5 separate regions of the Homo sapiens genome follow, and all the other regions are linked to region 1. The links are contacts of gene promoters, found by promoter capture Hi-C in blood cells and fetal thymus (Javierre and others, 2016). All regions are on one chromosome and are shown on one strand. The core of a region is centred on a gene start or on the middle of the fragment in contact, and the rest is flanking DNA. Distances in the headings are between cores, read along the strand shown. Region 1 holds the start of EIF1AX-AS1 (EIF1AX antisense RNA 1). Region 2 has its middle 3.7 kb from the start of PDHA1. Region 3 overlaps PDHA1 (pyruvate dehydrogenase E1 subunit alpha 1). Region 4 overlaps SH3KBP1 (SH3 domain containing kinase binding protein 1). Region 5 overlaps SH3KBP1 (SH3 domain containing kinase binding protein 1).

Region 1 (2,671 bases), core at 97-2,596:
CCCCGGGGCGGCCTAGGTTTAGTAGATAGGCCCCTTTGGCCTTCCCGGGCATGAGGGGTTATAATCCCTGGAAGCCGTTCTGAACTTTCAGAGTGCTGTCTGCATTCGTGAGCACCAGGTACTCCTGCATGGGTTTCTTTATGGACAGTTCAGTATTGTTGAGGCTACTCGCTGTCCCTTGTGAACAGTGGGTGAAACCTTGATACATTTCTAAGGCTCACCTCTAGAGATTTACTCTCTCCATCCCTTTACAGGATATAGCTTATGTTTGTTTGCTGAAGACTTATTCCATATTGAGCCAAGTTTTCTACTTTTGCTTCAGATGATGCATATGTTGTGAGAATAAAGACCTAATTTAAGTGTCCTCCATTCTGAGGCTAAGCGTTCACAAATGATCAGACTTGAGGATAACTTTATTTGGGATTTCCAAAACGGAAGGCCTAATCTTAAAAAAAAAAAAACAAAAACAAAAAACAGAACACTCCTAAAGAAATTACTTTTATAGATTTACAGTGTTCCTGTCATTTTTAATAGCCGTATAACTTGAAGAAAATTGTGCAAGTAAATATAGGGAAAATACTGTATTTTCCTACAGGAGAGGAGCATACTTCATAGTCCGTAAGTAGTCTCCTTTGATTATTCATTCTAGAGGAAACCCTCCCCTGACACAGGCCTACTTCTGCTCTCTTTTCTACTTGACAGCTGGCTCCAGGGATTCTACCACATTTCCTCTTTGTAGCTGTCACTTATTACTTTATCCCTTAGGGTACTTGGTCGAGGTGTTCTGTGCACAAGTTGGTGCAGTCACTGCTCATTATTTTGGAAAAGATGGAGTTATAAACAAAAAATTTTAAAGTCTTACAGTTTTCTTCTGTATAATCCTTTATTCTCTCTGAGGTGGTAAGGGGATCACTTCCATCTTATTCTCACCTTTATTTCTAGTAATAAGATTTCCAATTCTTCCACCAGGCTGTAAGCTCTACAAGGCAGGAATAGTATCTGTCTTAATCTCATTGGATTGCCAGCACTTGACAATTAGTAGATGCTTAATAAATATTTGTTGGTTTAAGTCACCTACCTCCTGTCGACTCCACCCTTAGTGAATAATAGGTTCTGCTTTGGTTCCAAGGGGATAGGACTTCTACACTAAATCACATCTAGTTCCCTAGCCTCATGTCTTAAGAAAGAGCCTCTCTGGGAATTTCTCCAAAACAACTCTGGTTTAAAGAATGTTGATGTCACTTTAATTGTTGTACACTCAGACCTAGTCTCATTCATTCAACAGAGAATTTAAAGAACATCCCATTACATGGCAATAAAATACAAAGGGGAGTGATCCGGGTATGGTTAATTCTGGTAAATTGACAAGTAATTAGTCTTTTCTTAAATAACATTTGAGGCATACAAAAAATACAGCTAACATGATATACCTGGGAACCCATTACTCTGAATTTAAGAATTACAGCGCAGATTGAGGTAAAGCCCTAATCACCTTTTACTCTCTTTTTGGAGGTAATCACCAGGCTGAGTTTGGTGTTTATCATTCCTGTACTGTCTGAAACCAATCAGTTCTTAGTTATCTTACTTAGAGGAATGGTACTTTTCATGACCTAATTTAAGTGTCCTCCATTTTTTTTTGCTGCTTCCAAGCTCTTCCCATGAGTCTCTTAGGGTCATTACCACTTACAGCCTTTTTCCTGCCTTTTGGAAATGGCTGCCAATGTGGTTTCCTTTCTGGAATGGGAGCAAAATGCTGTGGAGAGGTAAGCTTATGTGGGGGCTAGGGGCAAAAAAAACATTGTGACTTTGGTCACCCCAGCTTACTGACTGTAATCAGTGAACTGATTTACTCACTGAAGCTAAGCGACTTACTTAACTTCTCTGAGCTTCAGGGAACTCATGGGTAAACTGGGAATAAATGAATGTTATGACCTCATGGGGTGATTGTGACAAGTAAATGGGCAGAATTATTGCATAGTGGTTAAGAGCATGGTCACTGGGGTCATATAATAGAAACAGGGATGTTGAGTAGGGACCAGCATTATAAAAGAAAGTAAATTGGGTACCGAACAGATCTTCTTTATTTTTTAAGAGACAGTGTCTCGCTATGTTGCCCAGGCTAGCCTGGAACCTCCTGGGCTTGCTCAAGTGATCCTCCCACCTGAGCCTCCTGAGTAGCTGAGACCCTAGGCGCACACCACTGCACCCAGTGAGATTTCAATATTTATGGTACTCTGCTACCAAAAGTTTGAAAACCACAGTTCTCTGTCCAGACACTGTCTTCACTTAATTTTGAAAGTATCGGGTTCCTTGCATAGGGCCTGGCTTTAGAAGACACCCAAGATTTCCGCTTAGAAGAATATGTATAGAATTGCATTTTTATTTCAAAAGGATGGGTGCTAAAGTGAAATGTTTTTCTATATTTTTTAACATAATATCTGCTATTTATGTGTATTTTATGTCAGAAAAATCCCCAAAGGAAATTCCAAGAAGGGTAGGGAGGTGATAATGTGTTAATGTTGGGATTGGAGATTGTAAATTTAATATGATTGTGTAGCTAAAATAGATGAATTTTTTAATTTAAGTGATCTTTTAAAAAATGGTTTTATAAGCCTTAATTTCATTTTATTTCATACTGTTTTACAGATAATTAATGTCATTTACCTCCTTT
Region 2 (2,671 bases), core at 111-2,610, 800 kb after region 1:
CTCCGCCTCCCAGGTTCACGCCATTCTCCTGCCTCAGCCTCCCGAGTAGCTGGGACTACAGGTGCCCGCCACCACGCCCGGTTAATTTTTTTTGTATTTTTCGTAGAGACAGGGTTTCACCATGTTAGACAGTATGGTCTTGATCTCCTGACCTCGTGATCCGCCCGTCTCAGCCTCCCAAAGTGCTGGGATTATAGGCATGAGACACTGCGCCCGGCCTCTTTTTTTTTTTTTTTTTTTTGAGACAGATTCTCACTCTGTTGCCCAGGATGGAGTACAGTGGTGACATCTTGGCTCACTGCAACATCTGACTCCCAGGTTCAAGTGATACTCCTCATTCAGCCTCCCGAGTAGCTGGGAAAACGGGCGAGCACCACCATGCCCGACTAATTTTGTATTTTTTTAGTAGAGACGGGGTTTCACCATGTTGGCCAGGCTGGTCTCAAACTCCTGACCTCAGGTGATCTGCCCACCTTGGCCTCCCAAAGTGCTGGGATTACAGGTGTGAGCCACCGCGCCCAGCTGTTTTCAGATATTTGAAAGCAGAGTTGGAAGCAACTTTGAAGGTGAGGGACACTGTGAGATGCTGTGTCAAGTGGTGACAGGTGATGATTGTGGTTAATAGTCATTAACTATAGGCTATAGTAACGTTATAGTAATGTTATAGTCATTAACTATAGGCTATAATAACTATAGGCTATAGTAACGCGCTAGAACATTCACAAAAGACTCTTGTATCAGGAGAGGAGGCCGGAGAGAAAGAAAGATTTGCAAAAGGCGGGAAGAGAAAGTCTTAAGAAAGGAGGGCTCGTTAATCTTGGGGGAAATTGTAATCCCAGCACTTTGGGAGACCAAGGCAGGAGGATCACTTGAGGCCAGGAGTTTGAGGCCAGCCTGGGCCACAAAGTGATACTCGTCTGTACAAAAAATAAAATAATTAGTCTGGTATGGTGTTGCATGCCTGTAGTCCCAGCTACTAGGGATGCTGACGAGGGAGGATTGCTTGAGCCTAGGAGTTTGAGGCTGCAGTAAGCTATGGCGGCATCGCTGCATGGCGGCCTGGGTGACAGGGCGAGACCCCATCTCTCTAAAAAACAAAACAAAAAAAACGTATCTGGGTGAAGCAGGGCAATTTTGATTAGAGACCCTGAAATATGCCTTTTTACCTTTCGTTAGCGAATCACCCTACAAGTATTCGATCAAGCTGAGCTTTAAGGCAAATCATGCTCCTTGACATGTCTCCGGTTTTCCAGTAAGAAACACCCATCCCCCAGCAGATGAATTAGAGTAGGACAATCATATACATGTGTCATAAAAGTCAACAAATCTTTGCAAATGTCTTTGAGGTACTAAGCAGCAGCTGGTGAAAGGATTATGGCTAGGGGTCATTTTAACTTTGGAACCATATAAATGTTTTTACACGACCATAAAACACAATGACATAACAATGGAAATGAAATATAACAAACCAATTTAATAACATACCAAGTTGTCAGCATAACCCCGCAGAGAATGATTTCAAGTTATTTCACACCACAGCAATGTGACTGCATATGCCTGGTGGGGTATAGCCTAAAGACAAAAGGAACTGGAAAAAAAAATCTTAAGGCGAGGCTCACACCTGTAATCCTAGCACTTTGGGAGGCTGAGGTGGGAGGATCATTTGAACCCGGGAGTTTGAGACCAGCCTAGGCAACATAGGGAGACCCCATCTCTACAGAAAAAAATCTTAAATTGTTCTCATTTGTCAGGTGTTATTATTTAAGACTGCACATACCCACACTGATAAAGTAAATATATAATTATGTTAATGCCATTGGGAACCAAGATTTTCAGTATAAAAAACAGAGACACAAATGTAAAATTCAACAGGTCAAAGCCAAGAGGTCCTGAATTTGAATTGGAAATATCAGTATAAACTCATGATTATTTCCCCCCCTCAAGATACACACACACACACACACACACACACATACATACATCTTGGCTAGGCTCGGTAGCTCACACTTGTAATCCCAGTACTTTAGGAGGCCAAGGTGGGCAGATCACTTGAGCTCAGGAGTTCAAGACCAGCCTGGGCAACATGGTAAGACCCTGTCTCTACACGATATAAAAAATTAGCCGGCCATGGTGGCGCATACCAGCAGTCCTAGCTACTAGGGAGGCCAAGGTAGGAGGATCACCTGTGCCTGGGAAGTGGAGGCTGCAGTGAGCCATCATCGTGCCAGTGCACTCTAGCCTGAGCAACAGAATGAGACTGTGTCTCAAAGCAAAAACGATGTGTGTGTGTGTGTGTGTGTGTGTGTATGTGTGTGTGTATCTTAACTCTCTCCACTGGAAATACCTAGAAGCAAAGACCAGCCCAATAGTAATTATTCTGAAATCTGGCAAAGGGAAAGAACCAAGGATTTATCCTGTCTTTCTTACATAGACTGAATTTCAATGTCAACAAACAGTTGATGAGGAATAGTTCTTTATAGAATAATTTCCAGCAGTAAATAAAAAAGGAACCATATAATTTTAATATCCCTGTGTTGTAACCCCTGAGGAAGTACTAGATCAAGCTGTTGGGGGATTTGTAATGTTTGGGCGGCTTTAACAAAATACGTGAGACTGGGTAACTTATAAACAACAAACACTGATTGGGCTTGATGGCTCATACCTGTAATCT
Region 3 (2,671 bases), core at 127-2,626, 780 kb after region 1:
TGTGTTTACATATTTAAAAATGCCATTGTTCAATTAATAGTTTAAGAACTTGTTTTAAATACTGTCCTGAGTTTCTTTTGAAACCTGTTATTTATAAACATAGAACTGTGTGTATTGTGAAAACAGTGAGCCTTGGTTTTGACCTCCCGGAATATTAGGAAATTCACTTGTAGTCCCAGCTATGCAGGAGGCTGAGGTGGGAGGATTGCTTGAGCCCAGGAGGTGTGGAGGCTGCAGTGAGCCATGATCACACCACTGCACTCCAGCCTGGGCAACAGAGCCCGACCCTGTCTCAAAAAAAGTACACCCTTCAGCACTTGCTGGAATGGTGAAACAAACAAGGGGTATTTAACAAACATGGAAGCTGGGACACTGCCTCAGAACTGGTATGGTACTTCAATTTGAGAAACACAAAACTGATACGAATGTGCCTTGTAGTTAATGTTTGATATGAACAGAAAATAGCTTCATATTTATACTGAATGTGTAAGTAGAGAAAACTAAGTTATGTGGCCTTTGAAATGATTACAAAATTGGAATGATTACAAAAGTCTTATTTTAAAATGGAACTGTCCTCTTGCCTGATAATAAATATTGTATCTTGTAGAGAAATGGTCAGCGCGAACAGGCTGCAGCACCAGCGCTGCTCGGGGTGGGTGCTATGGTTGGTAGAATGCTGTGAGGGGCCCCGCCATAATGGTCTCCTCCCAAAAAGGTGGCTGGGGGCAGGGGAAACAGGCATACAAGGAATTGTTCTTCCTTTTCATAATTAGAGTATTTGTTCAAAGTATACTATTTTAAGTCAAAAATAATCTTTAAGCACTCAATAATTCATCTTTTAATGCACTAATGTACAAACTGCATGCAATTACTACCTGCTCAATCTACACACTTAATGGAAGTTTCCAAGAATTTCATTGAATTTCATTGACTGGGTTTTCTTCCTCCTTAACCAAGTTGAGAACACTGTCTGGTAGCCCCCTGAAGGTATAACCTCTCCTTCTCCTCCCCTTAACTGACTGACTTAAACTTGATCCACTGATTGGCACCACGAACTTCAAAAGGTGGGTCGCTGGAGTAGATGTGGTAGCCCAGCTCTTCCAAAGGTGGCTCAGGATCGGCCGTGGCAAACTGGGCAGCATCCTCAATCTCCTTCCTCACTTCCACATCAATTTCCTAAAAATTAGGTAACAGTGTAAAAGGTTTTAGAATGAACAGCAGCTTAGGTACCAACTAGAGTTCTGCTGAGGACCTGTTGCTGGTGTAACTCTTTAACTACAAGTACGAACAGTTGCTAATTCAGAAGATTTTGGAATACAGATTTCTAGGGTGTATCTATTTTATGAATTAAAAATCCACAGTATACTTTTAGGAAAAAAGAACCATACTACTGTGGGGGCTTTGCCACTGTGATGGTGGTTCACAGTCCACCAAAATCTGAAATCTGAAGAGTAATACAATTTTGAATAGAGGAAACTAAAGGAAAAGCCCCCACCCCAAGGGACTTTGGAACTATGGAACTATTTATGTCCCAGGACATCACTTTCTGGGCTTGGAGGAACCCACACAAACTCTGTGGCCACCCAGGGGTGGCAACTTTTAAAGCCAACCTTCAAACCACCATGAACAAGTGACTGTACCTTTAGTTCTTCCACACTGGCAAGATTGCTGTTCACCATCCTGTCCTTGAGAAGCATAATAGGGTCACTCTTACTTCTTACTTCCTGAATTTCTTCTCGTGTACGGTAACTATGGGGAGGGAAAAGTAGTAATCGATCAGTAAGAGCAGTTCCAGTAGAGCAAGGACGGCGTGATGAAACATGATATGGGGTTGGATTGTCCCAATGAGGTGAAATACAGAAGTGTGTTTCTGAAACAAAGGGGCATACCAATGCTTATGTCACTATAGGCGTGGCAGAGTTGTTGTTATACTTTCAAAATACCAGAACGCAGCCTAACATTCTGTAATAACTGCTTCTGTCTTTTCTAGAAAACCGTACACTGGTGAGTCACATGGCTTCCCTGGCATTCCGACAACAGGGGCCAAGTTTTTGCTTGCTGCTTTGATTTAGATGTAAGGTTCTAAAGAAGTGTCACTTGTCCCACCCATTTGGGCTCCTGTATACTACATGGGTGGGGACAGCAGAGATGGTGTGTGTGGTGATAATTAGACTTTGAGACATCAGAGCGCCAAGCAGGAAATCCATGTGCCTTGCCTTTCTCCCTTAAGTCCCCCTAAAGAAGCACAGCCAGCAAAACCAATGTATCTTATGCCTATATCATCTGAAGTAACACTAAAAGGATTCTACCATTTTCAACAATAGATTTACACAAAGTGCATTTTTCCATATACTGTGCTCTCTACATGATTTTTCCTTAGAAGTCCACTCTACAAAGGCTTATTTATTCAACTGTGTCAAAACTGGGATTCCAGAATCACAGGCCAGAGCTACTAAGCAAAAAAGTAAAATTCATGCCTTCCTAGTGGAACCTAGCTTTTTTGATTGATGTATTTCAACGGATTGAACACCCAGTTACCCTTAGCTCTATACCAGACAGAGGAACATCTCCAAATTCTGATCCTCTTCAGGTAGAGTATGCCAGGTGTAGACTTGGGGTAATGCCTACAAAAGCTAAATGCCCCCAAGATACTACACTACCATCAGCCCTG
Region 4 (2,671 bases), core at 50-2,549, 580 kb after region 1:
GGAAACTGAGCAAGATTATCTGGCTAGTAAGAAATTGGAGTTGAAGGCCAGGCGCGGTGGCTTACACCTGTAATCCCAGCGCTTTGGGAGGCCAAGGCGGGCAGATCACCTGAGGTCAGGAGTTCGAGACCAGCCTGGCCAACATGGTGAAACCCTGTCTCTACTAAAAATACAGAAATTAGCTGGGTGTGGTGGTAGGCGCCTGTAATCCCAGCTACTTGGGAGGCTGAGGCAGGAGAATCGCTTGAACCCGGGAGGCGGAGGTTGCAGTGAGCCAAGATTGCACCACTGCACTCCAGCCTGGGGGACAAGAGCGAGACTTCGCCTCAAAAAAAAAAAAAAAAAAAAAAAAAAATTGGAGTTGAAGCCAGGTCTCTCTGACCCATGAGCCCAAACCTTCTAGGTCCACATCAGCATTTCTCAACTGCTCTCCCCAAGGGGACATTTGGCAATGTCTGGAGACATTTTTGACTGTCACATCATAGGGGTGGGGGTGGAGATGCTACTGGCATCTAGTGGATAGAGGCCAAGGATGCTGCTAACCATCCACCAGTGTGTAGGATAGCCCCCACAGACAACAAAGAATGACCCAGCCCCAAATGTCAATAGCACCGAGGCCCAGAGAGCCCAGTCTGTGTTAGGAACAGGAAGAGGACAGGCTTCCCCTGCAAGTGCAACTTGTGTTCCCTGGAGTGGCCTGTCTCATTTCCTGAGAATCTCTATAAAACCTAGTTTGAAAATATTTCATATACAAAAAAGTAATTATATTTGAAGTAATTAAACATCAACCAAGGACATGACTGTGACCTTTGTGAGAGAGAAAGAGGAAGGGGGGGGAGAGAGAGAGAGAGGCGAGAGAAGAGAGGGGAGAGGGGCCATCTTAAGGCTTGCAGCAAGTGAAATGATACCATTTGAGTCTGATTTCAAATAGAAAGAGTATTGGATTTGTGATTAGATATTTGCCAAAGATCAACTACCCAGTGTTTAAACGGGTATTACATAAAAGGACAATAACAAATTTGATCAATACTAAGTTCTAAATCTGTACTCTGTATGGTAAAGTTATACAGGAGAGCAAGAGAGAGCAATTGTAATAGCGACCATTAACACAACATTTTTGTGAATGTGACACCAAATGTCTACAAACAAGTGATTACATTCTTACCTTATTTTGCAATTTCTACCTTTCATGATAATAAATCACTTCTAAGGGTTTCTCATACAAATTTTGAGGAAAAATTCAGATCTCCTGACTTGGGGCTATTGGTTTTTCTGTCCTGTTTTTAAAATACATATTTTAAACTTCCCCTTTTGGAGCCAGAGAGCCAGTTATTGGTCCTTGCAGCATGTCAGATCATTGAGCAATTGCTCAGGTTCAATAAAACAAGATATACTGTGTCCTGCCTGCCATTAAAAAAAAACAAAAACCCATGAATGACACTTGGAGTGTTCCAGATTGACTACTGGCTGAGCGTGTGTGTGAACAACAGCCGCGCCTTCCAGCTCTCTCGGGATTAGTTGCTCAGACATGAGAACTTTCACTGAAGAGCCACGGCTGGCTCCTACAGACACTGTCTCCTTACTGGCAACCTTCAGACACAGCCTTTGGGACCAAGGACATGGTTGATGTTACCTGTGCTGAAGAACAGGAGATACGGTTGCTACTGGTCTACAGTCAAGTCTGCATATGACGGGCTGCGGTGCCCATGTGTGGACGTGTGCAGCTCCGGTCCCTATCTAGGGACACAAATCGTGATCAAACTTAAATTTTTGTCAGGAGTAGCTGAAAAGCACTATACATTTCTCAAGTGTGATGACAGAAAGCAAAAGAGATTGTGCTGAGGGTCAAACGCTTTATACAAAGGAAGTGAAACAGGTTGCGCTTCTGATTGATGGGTTTTTAACCCAGGCAATCCTCTGAGCATTTTGGGTTCCTTCCTCGAACTTACAGAGGCGTAGCTAATTCAGAACAGCTTCTGTGGATGGCCTTCTCCCTGCATCGCCCTTGAGCCCTCCCCTGGTTCCCAGCCTCTCAGGCTCACAGTGGAGGTGTGCTGCTGAGGAAACAAGGTCAAGTTGGCAACCAGCACTCATTTCGAAAGGCATCCTCCAGTCCTACAGGAGATGGTCCTTCAGGGCCCTTTGAAGGGCCTGATCTTGGGTGTAAAATGAGCATCTCCACTTAGACTTTCTCAGTCAAAGATGTTGATCCTCACCAGAACCGAGGTGCTCACCTCTGCCTGTGCACCTTGCACAGGGCGGTCCTGCTGGCCTTTGGTGGTCCATCACGGTGGCTGGGTTTGTGCTTAGTTATGAGGGTCTTCACGAACATCTTTTACCCCATAACATCCCATAAGCGCAAACTCAGTAAACATTGAAAGTGCCTGTAGGAAAAGCCTCACAAATGCTATAGAAACAGGGGGAGATTACGTCAAAGTGGGGACATGATGGCAAATGTTGCAGAACCTCACTGCAGCAGTGCATTTGGTGGTATGAATTATTCCAATATACAGAGAGCAAATTAGTACTGTCCTACCCAAGTGCTCTATACCCACCAGCCTGCAAAATAGCTGACCTGAGAGAGGTGGAGGGACATTTAGGGAGCATCAATTCAGATGGCTGTTGGCTTGGAGAGGGTCACAGAGGCTAGTAGCTGTGTGGACTTGCAGGC
Region 5 (2,671 bases), core at 48-2,547, 530 kb after region 1:
TGGCAAGACCCTGACTCTACAAAAAATTAAAAAATTAGCCATGCATGATGGAGTATGCCTGTAGTCTTGGCTGCTCGAGAGACTGAGTGGAAGGATTGCTTGAGCCTGAGAGGTCAAGGCTGCAGTGAGCCATGATGTATTTATCCTTCTGTATAAAGACGTTCAACAATGGCTCTACTTTGGAATGCCACTGCACTCCAGCCTGGGCAACAGAGTGAGGCCCCGTCTAAAAAAAAAAAAAAAAAGTGAATGACTGCCTAAGCCTTAGTTATCCTGTGATGTTGGCATTTGGAATGTAGTGTTTTCTTGAGTAAGCTCGTCCCTAGGACTGTCTCCTCAGGCTTCTTTCTTTACTTTTGGCCTGCCAGGCATTGCTTCTGACACTGAATAGTAGTCAGTGTAGTCCTCGTTTTTTCTTCTTACCTTATAAACCATGATATGTGGCTGAGCCTCCTTTAGTAACTGATTTATGGGGATGTAGAAAATTCTGAGAGAAATCCCAGCCATGCAGAATAATTGCATCTCTTGGGGAGGTGTTAACAAGCAGAGGCAGAGATGAGTGCTTCTGGGCCCCGGCTTCCATGGAACTTTCGCTCAATAGCCCCCACCCCTAAGCTCTATGCAGAAGGCGTTCATTAGCAAATATTAAATGCCTGTTTCCATACTGCTGGTGGATGCTGAGGGTGTGAGGCCCTCTGGGGGCATGCTGAGGCTCACTTAACAGCCTCACCCAAATTGTCCAACACTCATTTTCTCCTCAAATGATATCAGGGAAGGTCATGAAGAACAGCCATGCTGGATAACTTCTGGGAAATTGGGACTGGGGAGCCTGGGGGCAGCTGACCACCAGAAGTGACTGAGCAGAATACATTTCTTTTTCGTTTGCATCAAGTGGTGTACCCATTTTTATGTTTTCAGTTTTTGGTTTGAAATGTCTGTTTCTAAGCTGCATGTTCCCATTTGAACTCAAAGAAGACACTTACAATGCCTGAGAAAATGTAGCCTTCCTTTTTGGGGTAATTTTAAAGTTTTTGCCACAATTTTGAATAAATAATAAATTCAGAACAGATCAGCAGGTAAAGCCTGATCATATAGATGAAGCTTCCTTTGTGTAGGAATTCTATACCTGCTTCCCCCTTGTTCAGTTTGACCTCACTTCTGATGTTTGAAAGTGGAGAGAAGTGGAACAACAGTCTGGAGGAAGATTGGGTCATTCATCTATTCAGTCAACATTTATTCAGAATTGACATGTTCCGGGCACTACGGCAGGAATTAGATGGAGACAGAGGTGTGAAGATAAGAATCCTCATTTTCAAGGAGCTTATCGTTTTCAGGAACCTTGTGACTCAAAGTATGGTCCACGGAGTAGCGGCATTGGCATCACCTGGGAACCTCTTAGAAGTGTAGAATCTCAGACTTGCCCCAGACCTACTGAATTTGAATTGGCATTTTCACAAAATCCCTAAGTGAGAAGCATGCACATTAAAGCTTGAGAAGCGTTCCTCTTAAATCACTGATTCTCAGCCTACACACTGGAAAAACCTAGGGACATTGTAAAAGCACTGATTTCCTGTGCCCATTCCCCACCCCCAAATTGTGATTTAATGGGTATGGAGTCTGGCCCAGACATCGGCATTTTCTTTTAAATTCCCAGGTGATTCTAAATGTGCAGACAGGTGTGAGAGCCACTCATCTAGTACATGGCTTTGTACTCTTGACAAAACAGCCCAAGATGAGATTGTAGCTCATTCTGTTAACCAATGTACAAGCTAGGTGGCAAGTTTGTCTTTTCTACAGATTTGAAGTGCCTAGACTAGAGGTAGGCACACCAGGTCTCACGTGCCCTCTCTGTGCCCACAGGTTGTATGTCAGGGAGTCGCTCTCAGCTGTGTGGAGCACTTCGGCCAGGTTACACGGGGCCATGCTGGCAAGATTGAACAGACTGAGGCCCGATACTGAAGTCTGGGCAAGGCCTCCTTCCTCAGACACACCCCGGGGCCTTGGCATCCCTCCCCTTGGACCCCCTCCAAGTGTGTGAGCTGCTGCCAGGGGGTTTCACCTGAGGCAGCAGGGACTAGGAGTGGCTCCTTGGCACTCGAGGATGGCGCTGGGTCGCATGACAAATGCACATGAGTGTAATTAAGCAGCTCTCCTGGTCACATTGTCCCTCAGGGATTCGGACCAGGCCATATAATCACGATGATGACAATAACAACAACCAGCTCTTGTGTCACTCTTTATACTTTGCAAAGATTTTCACATGTGTCAGGAAACCGAGATCCAGGGAGCTTTCGTCACTAGGGAACAGCTTAAGTGTCACATGGCCCATGCTTGCTCTGTTCCACCTCTCTCTGAGTTCCACTTGAACATGTCAGGCAAAATAAGGAATGGCTCCCTTGTGACAAAGTGAGTTCCCTGTTATAAGCAGTATGCTAGGAGGGAGTAGATAACCTGAGATGTAGCAGAACGCAGAGGCTGGACTACACAACGCCTAATGCTCAATTCATTCATTCCTTAAAAGGAAAAACATCATTTGCATTTTATAGGGAAAAGTATATGTTACCCTAATATCTCCCTGGTGTTGAGGCATAGAGAAACCATTTTGGCCATTTTAAGGACTTGAGTTTGAAAGAGTAAAAATGATATGTCAGAAATATGATTTCTTTCCATA

The links. The method cuts DNA at HindIII sites, captures the fragments that hold promoters and counts their contacts. A CHiCAGO score of 5 or more calls a contact.
Region 2: a fragment that was not itself captured here is called in contact with the fragment with the promoter of EIF1AX-AS1 in region 1 in 6 of 17 cell types (neutrophils, total CD4 T cells, total CD8 T cells and 3 more); the score reaches 9.0 in neutrophils.
Region 3: a contact is called between a fragment that was not itself captured here and the fragment with the promoter of EIF1AX-AS1 in region 1, in 1 of 17 cell types (neutrophils). The highest score is 10.2, in neutrophils.
Region 4: a fragment that was not itself captured here is called in contact with the fragment with the promoter of EIF1AX-AS1 in region 1 in 1 of 17 cell types (naive CD4 T cells); the score reaches 5.6 in naive CD4 T cells.
Region 5: a contact is called between a fragment that was not itself captured here and the fragment with the promoter of EIF1AX-AS1 in region 1, in 1 of 17 cell types (activated CD4 T cells). The highest score is 5.7, in activated CD4 T cells.

The regions. Positions count from the first base shown.
Region 1 is chrX:20,138,643-20,141,313 of GRCh38, reverse strand. It overlaps EIF1AX-AS1 (EIF1AX antisense RNA 1), which reads right to left and starts at 1,346. Exons shown (of 2, transcript NR_046592.2): 1 at 1,079-1,346; 2 at 870-979. The region is part of intron 1 of EIF1AX (eukaryotic translation initiation factor 1A X-linked); the gene reads left to right. RefSeq lists an enhancer at 75-234. The HindIII fragment of the contact is 4,524 bases long and covers 1-1,770 here.
Region 2 is chrX:19,338,866-19,341,536 of GRCh38, reverse strand. No RefSeq gene overlaps it. Among named protein-coding and RNA genes, the nearest start is that of PDHA1, 3.7 kb to the left of the region's middle. The HindIII fragment of the contact is 5,401 bases long and covers 1-2,671 here.
Region 3 is chrX:19,357,994-19,360,664 of GRCh38, reverse strand. PDHA1 (pyruvate dehydrogenase E1 subunit alpha 1) reads right to left here. Exons shown (of 11, transcript NM_000284.4): 10 at 1,641-1,749; 11 at 1-1,176. The coding sequence ends at 1,012. It overlaps MAP3K15 (mitogen-activated protein kinase kinase kinase 15), which reads left to right. Exons shown (of 29, transcript NM_001001671.4): 29 at 1-606. Among named protein-coding and RNA genes, the nearest start is that of PDHA1, 15 kb to the right of the region's middle. The HindIII fragment of the contact is 2,804 bases long and covers 1-2,671 here.
Region 4 is chrX:19,562,736-19,565,406 of GRCh38, reverse strand. All of the region lies in intron 13 of SH3KBP1 (SH3 domain containing kinase binding protein 1), which reads left to right. Among named protein-coding and RNA genes, the nearest start is that of MAP3K15, 49 kb to the right of the region's middle. The HindIII fragment of the contact is 4,351 bases long and covers 1-2,671 here.
Region 5 is chrX:19,613,492-19,616,162 of GRCh38, reverse strand. The region is part of intron 8 of SH3KBP1 (SH3 domain containing kinase binding protein 1); the gene reads left to right. Among named protein-coding and RNA genes, the nearest start is that of MAP3K15, 99 kb to the right of the region's middle. The HindIII fragment of the contact is 387 bases long and covers 1,104-1,490 here.